2 separate regions of the Homo sapiens genome follow, and region 1 is linked to region 2. Evidence: promoter capture Hi-C in 16 types of primary human blood cells and fetal thymus (Javierre and others, 2016). All regions are on one chromosome and are shown on one strand. Each heading gives the region's core, a stretch centred on a gene start or on the middle of the fragment in contact. The rest is flanking DNA. Distances are from core to core; before and after follow the strand shown.

Evidence for each region. The method cuts DNA at HindIII sites, captures the fragments that hold promoters and counts their contacts. A CHiCAGO score of 5 or more calls a contact.
Region 1: a contact is called between a fragment that was not itself captured here and the fragment with the promoter of ADGRG7 in region 2, in 1 of 17 cell types (total B cells). The highest score is 5.3, in total B cells.

What each region holds. Positions count from the first base shown.
Region 1 is chr3:99,858,016-99,862,674 of GRCh38, forward strand. The region is part of intron 1 of CMSS1 (cms1 ribosomal small subunit homolog); the gene reads left to right. The region is part of intron 4 of FILIP1L (filamin A interacting protein 1 like); the gene reads right to left. All of the region lies in intron 1 of LOC105374010 (a long non-coding RNA gene), which reads left to right. Among named protein-coding and RNA genes, the nearest start is that of HP09053, 36 kb to the left of the region's middle. The HindIII fragment of the contact is 381 bases long and covers 1,356-1,736 here.
Region 2 is chr3:100,606,996-100,611,171 of GRCh38, forward strand. ADGRG7 (adhesion G protein-coupled receptor G7) reads left to right here and starts at 2,606. Exons shown (of 16, transcript NM_032787.3): 1 at 2,606-2,976. The coding sequence starts at 2,862. The HindIII fragment of the contact is 7,171 bases long and covers 1-3,774 here.

The DNA of each region.
Region 1 (4,659 bases), core at 296-2,795, 750 kb before region 2:
CACAATTCAGTAAAGGCTCCAGAGCAGTAGTTCGTAACCTTTTAGGTCTCATGACCCCTTTACACTCAAAAAATTTTGAGGACCCTAAAGAGCTTTTGAGTGTATGGGCTGTATCTATCTCTTTACTGTATTAGAAATTCAAACTAAGATTTTAAAAATACTCATTAGTGCCAGATGCAGTGGCTCACACCTATAATCCCAGCACTTTGGGAGGCTGAGGCAGGCGGATCATGAGGTGAGGAGATCGAGACCATCCTGGCTAACATGGTGAAACCCTGTCTCCACTAAAAATACAAAAAATTAGCTGGGCATGGTGGCACGTGCCTGTGGTCCCAGCTACTTGGGAGGCTGAGGCAGGAGAATTGCTTGAACCCGTGAGGCAGAGGTTGCAATGAGCTGAGATCACACCACTGCACTCCAGCCTGGGCGACACAGCAAGACTCTGTCTCAAAAATAAAATTTAAAAAAAATCATTTGTTAAAAATAATAAATAATAATAAATCCATCATCTGCTAAATAACATATTTTTATGAAAAAATACTTTTACAAAATTATTTAGTGAGAAGAGTTGCATTGTTTTACATTTCTGCAACTAATGTCTGGCTTAATTGAAGACAGCTGTATCCTCAGATCTGTTTCACACATTCCATTAGCTGTCAGAGAAATCATCACACGTCATGGAGCCTCTGGAAAACTCCATATACACTTCTGAGAGAATGAGAGAGAAAAAGGTTGTGTTATTATGAAGATATCTTCTTCACTCTCAAAGGGGGCCACACTTTAAGAACCATTACTCCAGAGGATAGACAGTTGAAACATCAGTGGCAAATTTGTCTTTCTCTGGAAAAGCGTCTGGTTTGGGCTGTCACCTTGTGCTTCTTCTGTCAGCCTTTTGCTTCATCCTGATGAAGTCCCCCAATTCACTGGCTTAGTCACTGCTTTGATGTTTCCATCATTAATAAAGCCAGTCACTTGCTAACCGTCAAACATAGATGGGAGATTCTCTGCCTTCAAATGTTCTCTCCCAGTCCACAGAAAAGTCCTAAATGACAAAACTGTTTTCATAAGACATTGTGTTTTGTTTGAAACTCCAATTTGAAATAAGAGTATGGAAACCACTAAGTTGCCTGGTTTTTATAAATGGGTCCATCCATAGTGCTATGCAGTTCAGCTGACATTTAATTCATTTCAGACCTTGATGAGACAAATACAGTGACAGCTACTATGTGCAAGGCACTGTACTTGCTATTTGTCAGTTCTTTTTTCCCCAAAACCTGCCTGTATTCTTGCACAGATCAGTCTGATCATACTTACAGTATTCTCCCAGTAACAACCAAATAGTATGATGATACCAAAGCTTGTTTGGTCTTAAGATGTTTGAAACAGTGTAACAGTCACCCTAGTCCTAAGTATGTAACTTCATTTTGATGGGCTTAAATTCCTGTATTTGTTCTCATTATTCCAGAGCTAGTTTAATACATTACTTTTTCTTCCTGATTTAATATGTTGATTACTAAGCAGAAAACTGCATACATCACACTCCTTTATTTATTTTTATATCTGCTCTCACAGCTAGACTTTGATAGCCTGATTATGATTATATCCCATTTTATCTTTTAGCAATTCTTGTCTAATACATAATTTTAACTGTGTTGCGTTGATAGTAGCTGTGTTCATGGTTAAATAACCATGGATTTCTAGCAGTTTGCAGAGTAATTACATGGAATTTATTGGAAAGCTTCTTTATTTGAGATAAATTTTGGTATCAGGCCTATAATTTATGTTTCCTTGCTTTCCTCCCTGCTTTTTCTATGGGACTTTTCACTGTTTAGTCTAAATTTTAAGAGCACTCATAAAAATAGCTGTGACCCGTCTTTTTTATTCTGTGTATGCTGCTTCCTTGTATTTCACAAGTCAAAGGTTTTCTAAAAATTACAGCTACAGCATACCATAGCCATAATGTAATGTACAATTCATTTGACTTAGTCAGCAAGATCAGTAGAACAGTAACACTTTTTTTGGCATCTGCTAGTTGAATATGAGTGTACATCTATGTCTGCTTTATGTCCTTGTTACTGAAGATCCTGTCATCATCACTGAGATCCTTTAGAGATACCATAAATGGGTCCAGACCCAGCAATTTGGGTTAATACTATTTTCCTTCATTGTGAAATAAGAATTAGGGCAGGAAGTTAAGAAGGAGGCTTTAGCTTGGTGTCAGAGGAATATATGGTAAAAATGGTATACTGTTAGTCATTACTCTTCATCACCTGAACGATTAATCTTACTAGGCCCCCCAGAGGTCAGGAGAAGTGAAATAAGATGGAAATAGTCAAATGACCCATTAATTATAAGGAGCTTGGTAGCTTTTAGCAGAGAATCAGGATTCTAAAAAGCGGTACTGAAATCCTCAAATTGAGCACAAGGACTGGAATTGAGGCAAATCTCACTCTTTTAAGAGCAGAAAAAGGAGCAAAGTAACTGAGAAAAAGGGTCTCTGAAAGGTGAGGTTCCAGAACAAGTAAAAGGCCAGTCTGAGGGTCCACAGGCACAGAACTTGGGTAGTTAGGCAGCTACAAGGAGAATATTTTCATCTTGAGAACAAAGGAGGTGCCCATGATTCTGGGCTAGAAAAGACACTGTCCATGCTGCTATGAAAGGGCCAGGTGGAGACTTGAAAAGATGCTCAGGCTAGACCTGGAAGAAGAAACTGGAACTGACAGGGGAGTGACAACAAGTACAGCACATGTAAATTTGTACCAGGATAATTACTGCCTAAATAATGTGTTTTGACTTCTGCAGTACTGTATTGTTAGGGAGCTTTCTAGTAAGAACCTTTGGACAATGGATGTTCATTTAATACCGTGAATATTGTGCCTCTCCTATCACTCTTTTAATTTTTCTTATTAAAAATACCTACTCAAATGAAGTTTTCTTTATGCCGTTTACTCAGATGACATCTATCAAGAAGGAGCTTTTAAAAAGTTAATTACTGTGAATACACTGCTGTGCTAGAGAGTCTACTCATTTTTCTCACTTTTCTTTTTGTTTTCCTCCCCCACCCCCTGCTCCCACCACCACTCTGAATTGGGGTTCTTGATTATTTAGAAAAGATCCCTTAAATCAAAGTTTCCTCTTTTCCATACTTTCCATTTTGATTGTTAATACACCCCCGCCCTCCCAAAAAAAATTACCTGTCTTCCAACAGATTAAGACTTTAGGTCTTTGTCAGACTAACAGTTTCAGGTAGATGTCCCCTTAATCCTCCAAAGCCTACCTGGGCCTTCCACAGCCATGATGCCTTCCCCTGGCTGCCCTGTCCCTCTAGGGAGAAGTATCCAAAAAGCCACTCAGCATGTGATGCCTTGTATTATCACAGATGTGTGTGTATTCCTGAAAGTGCCTCCTAGTTCATGGCATACAGAGCTGCCTTTACACCTAGCATTGTGATGGTGCTCCTCCTGGGCTTGTCCTCAGGTTCCTAATGCTTTCATTGTTTATCATTGTCTCCATTCCTTCCTCCCACTCTCTGCAGTTGATTTTGTACTCTCTGTGATCTGCGTTCTTCTGTATCTTGTCTGTTTGCCCAAGGTAGCCTTCTTTAAGACAGGGATAATGTCTTCCCTACTGCCTGTTCCCTATTACCCCCAGCAAGAGATTGCAGTAAACAGTGCAGGTGGCAGAGGGCAGGTGGAATGACTGACAGCATGTACACTCTCTAGTACCGAAGCACCAATAGGAACGAGACAGTGGAAAACTATGAGAGGCAGGGCAGGGCAGTGCAGAGCGAGAAATTCAGACTCTGGAGTTCAGTTTTTGCAGCTGAATCCCGGCTTTCCAACTTCTGTCTAGTGTGACTTGAGCAAGCAATTTAACCTCCCTACAAGTCTCATTTTCTTCATCTGTAGAATGGGGATAATATTAGAGCCTCCCTCACAATAGGGTTGTTCTGAAGATTAATAAAAAACAATCCATACAAAAAGTCCTTATCATAGTGCCTGGCACAATACATGTCCGTTCTCATTAGAAGTAGGATGGTGAGTACTAAAAGAGTAGGTTTTAGATGTTCTCACCACAAAAAAATGATAAGTATGTAAGGTAACAAATACGCTAATTAGCTTGATTTAGCCATTCCACAATATCTAGATATATAAAAACATCATGTTATAGGCCCTAAATATAGTTTTAATTTTCATTTAAAAAATCAAATCAAATAAAAATAAGTGCTACTTGCTTGGCATATTGGAAAAAAAAGTAGGACAGTGAGACAACACAGTGAGACAACGTCAGTCACAATGAGCTGACCTAAAGTAGGGGTCAGCTGGGGGAAGAATAGCACAAATCACATTGGAATGAAAGATATGACTACATAATGTTTATTGCGATCTATTTTAAGGCTTTTCATGGATCTTTTCAGCTATGCACATGGTTAGTCATAATGATTGTCATTTTAGGTCAGAGTTTCTCAGCCTTAGCATTGTTGACATTTTGGTTAATTCTTTGTTGTAGGGGCTGTCCTGTACACTGTAGGGTGTTTAGCAGCATCCCTGATCTCTACCTACTAAATGCCAGGAGCAACACAGTACCTCCAGCTCAGTTGTGACAACTACTGAATGTCTCCAGACAACTACTGAATGTCTCCAGACATTGCAGAGAAAT
Region 2 (4,176 bases), core at 1,356-3,855:
CAGAACCCTACAAGAGAAAAACACCATCACCAGATGGCAAACTTGAGACCCAGGATCCCTTCCTTCAGTCACACTGTTCAACTAAGACCATTCTGCAGATGACCACACAGGGCAGTGTTTCTAAAGCATGTGTTGAAGAACCCTGTCTCTGAGAGATCCTTCTTGAGAAGAGGATTCTGAGTTCAAATAACATTGAGAACATACTTGCATACATGTCTTCTCTAGCAGTTCACAATGGACATGAACATTGTGAATGCTCTAAGAAATGCTAGAGTGGAGAAAACTGTTTAACTTTGTGTTACCTGGCTTCATCCAAAGGTACTTAACCATAAAGCTCCTGTGTAGAATAATACCAGTTTCAGTCTCATTTCCTCATTCATGCAAAGGGCAAACACATTATGTTACCTGGGGCTTTTACACAGAGTGAATGAGATAAACATGTGTAAAGTATAAAGCACCATCCTTGGTATACACTACACATATGATAGGTGTTAATTCCTTTTCTTAGATTTATTTATTATTTATTGAAAACCATTGTTTTATTATTGAAAAAGTTATATATATTTATTTATAATAATAGAAAGAATACACAAGGCTAAAACTTCAAACTATAAAAGGGATATAAAATTTTAAAACTCTCTCCTACCTCAGATTCCTCAGATTCCCAAGAGGAACTTTTTCATGTACCTTTCCAGACATTTTCTGTGCATGTGTATGCAGACATATCAGAAACAGATTTTTAAAGATCTATTCCCAGTAAATGAGGTAATGGGTTTGCATTCATTTGTGTTGTACTTCTGCAGCAGTACTTCTAAGTTCTTCCATTTTGTGCTACCTCAATTTGTTTTTCTGAAATTCTTGGGAGGGGTAAAGTTAGGGCCTTATGTTTATAGCAAAACATTTATAAAGTGAATGTCACAGAGAATTGGAAACCCCCATAGTGTTTGGGGGTTAACTAAAGGTCAGTTTAAGTGTAAAGCCTTTTTTGGTAAAGCCTTGCTGAATACTTCCTGAAGGAATTAATGGGCTGGTATGTAGGTAGTAACGGGCTAGTACATAGGTTTCCAATTTATGATGGTTTTTTTCACTTCTGATTTTTCAACTTCACCATGGTGCAAAAGCAATATGCATTCAGTAGAAACCATGTTTGGGGTACCCATACAACCATTCTGTTTTTCACTTTCACTACAGTATTCAATATATCACATGGGATATTCGCCACTTTATTATAAAATAGGCTTTGTGATAGATGATTTTGCCCAATTTTATGCTATTGTATGTGTTTTGGGCACATTTAAGGTAGGCTAGCCTAAGCAAGGATGTTCAGCAGGTTAGGTGTATATTTAATGCGTTTTGACTTAAGATATTTTTTAACTTAAGGTGGATTTATTGGGATGTAATCTTATTGTAAGTCAAGGAGCACCTGCACTCCATAATAATTAAATATGATGATCTTTTATTTTAGCAGTTATGACTTGCCTTATAGGTGGCTATATCTAGGTATCTCACCCCTGAGAAATTATGAGTTCTTTGAGGACCCTGTTCATGTCTTGTACCAATTCAAACACATTAAAGGCATTTAATATGGATTTGATGAAGCAAGGGAGTGTCCAGAGAAGACCAGAGCATCTGTTCTCTCTACCAAAACAAAACTGTGATTGAGGAGGTGAATGTTCATGTATCTGTTCTTCCCTGTAAGGGTAGAGGGTAGGGAAGGAGAACATGGGAGCCTGGGCAGGAGAGGGTCAGAGCTGCATCTATAGAGAGACACCAGTTTGTAGTTACTCTGATGATGTATTAGTTTCCCAGGGCTGCTCTAATAAAGTACCACAAACTGGGTGGCTTAAACAACATAAATTTGTTGTCTTACAGTTTGGGTGGCTAGAAGTCAAGTCAAGGTGTCAGCAGAGCCAGTTCCTTCTGAGGACTCTCTCTTGTAGATGGCCGTCTTCTCTCTCTGTCTCTTCAGATCATCTTTCTGTATTCATGTCTGTGTTCAGATTTCTTCTTCTTATGAGGACACCAGCCATATTGATTAGTGACCACCCTAACAAACTCGTTTTAACTCGATCACCTCTGCAGTAACCACATCTCCATGTGAGGCCTCATTCTGAGGTACCGAAGGTTAGGACTCCAACATATGAATGTTGGAGGGGACACAATTCAGCCCATAGCAGGTGGGTTATCATGCTGGGCTTTAGTGCTTGTCAAGACCCAGCCTGTGCCAGTATGCACACTCACCAACTGCATCTGTCAAAATGTAGGCTCCTTAAAGAAATGCAAGCGCTAAAAACCATGTGTGGTGATTGCCATTTATCCTCTTATTGACAACCTAGTTCATTTCCCCGAGAGAGTGTTTTGTGTGGTCTGAAGCACCTGCCAGTCTATCTCTGCTGTACCCTCCCAAGACAAAAATACAGGAAGCCGAGCCATAGGTGACTACTGGCAACCACTGCCTTTGTGATTTCCTCTTTGGTTTCTTCTATTTTGTTCCCTTCCTTCACTCTGTGGCTTGTCTGGGCATTCACTCTTTGACCCTTGTGGCTAGTCCCTCCCCTTCTTCTTTATTGCCCTGAGTTATCTCCCTATTCCCATAACTCTAATCACTTTTTTCATGTTCTCCTTGAGTGAAGGATGAGGAAATTGAAAGCAGAGTATGCACCTTTTATTAGGAGATTCAAACTGCATCCTACTGGATTAGCCTCAAAAGTCCTAAAATACAAAGACATCCATCTGACAGATCACTGAGGGGAGGACTTGTTTTTCTGTTTTAGAATAGTTTCCGATTAAACTTTTTAGCTCAAGAAGAAAAGAAGCTAGTTATTTCTCACCCAGGAGTGGATTTGTGGTTTGGCTTCACCATGGCTTCCTGCCGTGCCTGGAACCTTAGGGTGCTGGTGGCTGTCGTGTGTGGACTACTGACTGGCATCATTTTGGGACTGGGCATCTGGAGGATTGTGATCAGGATCCAAAGAGGTAATGTTGTCCTGCTATGTTTAACTCAGAGTAAGAGAAGGTATGGGACCTCTGTCCCTGCCACCTGGTGCACAAGTACTGGGAGGTACCTTGTCCAGTCTGAGGCATTCCACCAAGGTGCCATTTATGGGATATAAAAGACCAAGTCAGTTAAGCCTAGCAGATGGTTGAATAGAAATGAATAGGTGTGGGTGTGAGTGGGCAGGGGGAAGAGTGACATAATTGAATTGGCCTCTTTATGCTCTTTTAACTCCAGACTGAATTGGTAGAAGAGTAATAATTAAAACGATTAGTAACACACATTTAGGTCTGTTTGGCTAAATTCAGGAAAGGGTAAATCGTTATGAACAAGGACACACACATGCATCAAACACATACACACACATGCATAACACACATACAATCAAACATACACAGAATGGAATTTCATTTTAAGAGAGAAGTTAAAGAAACTCATCACTAAGGTTTAAGTGAAATGATCTCATGGTTTGCATACAAATTTCCCACTTTCCAGATGTAGGAAACTAATCAAAAATTTAAAAACCATTTTTAAATGACTTTCCTGATTATTCAACGAACATTTGTTAGTCCCCCGCTGTGTGCCAGAGCTGGCCTGGAAAAGGAGGACGTGGGAGGGGAAGTAGTGAGTAAAACAATGATGTTAAAGAAAAGCCCGCTGGAACTCAGAACGCGAAATTTCAATGATCCTAATGCTGGATCCCTTGGGCTGTAGAGCTTCTCCGTAAAGGAATTCAATGTTGGATGGGCTACATACTCCCTTTCGTGAAAATCAGAGAAAGCTTCTAATGAAACAATAAATAAGGGTAAATAATGCCGATCGGGAAAGGCAGCAGGAGAGGCAGTATGCCCTCTGAGCAGGTAACTGGGGAGGACAGAAGGTTGGGGAGCTAGCAGGAGCATGGAGCATGGCTGCAAAGATCCAGTGTTGAAGACCAACAGAGGGATCTGACATACTGGCTGCTGATGGAGTGGTAGCTGGGGATGGATTTGTCCTCCCCCTACCCCACCGCCCTAACCAGTATTTAGAGAATACTGTATCGATAGTATTTAGAGAACTAGAATGAGAAAATTTACCAGAACAAAAATAGTAAAATTTAAACTTGGAGCAAATGTGTTTTTGTTTGTTTAAGGTTGTAAAATAGTTTCATTCAGGTTAAAAAATTATGAACTATGGATTTT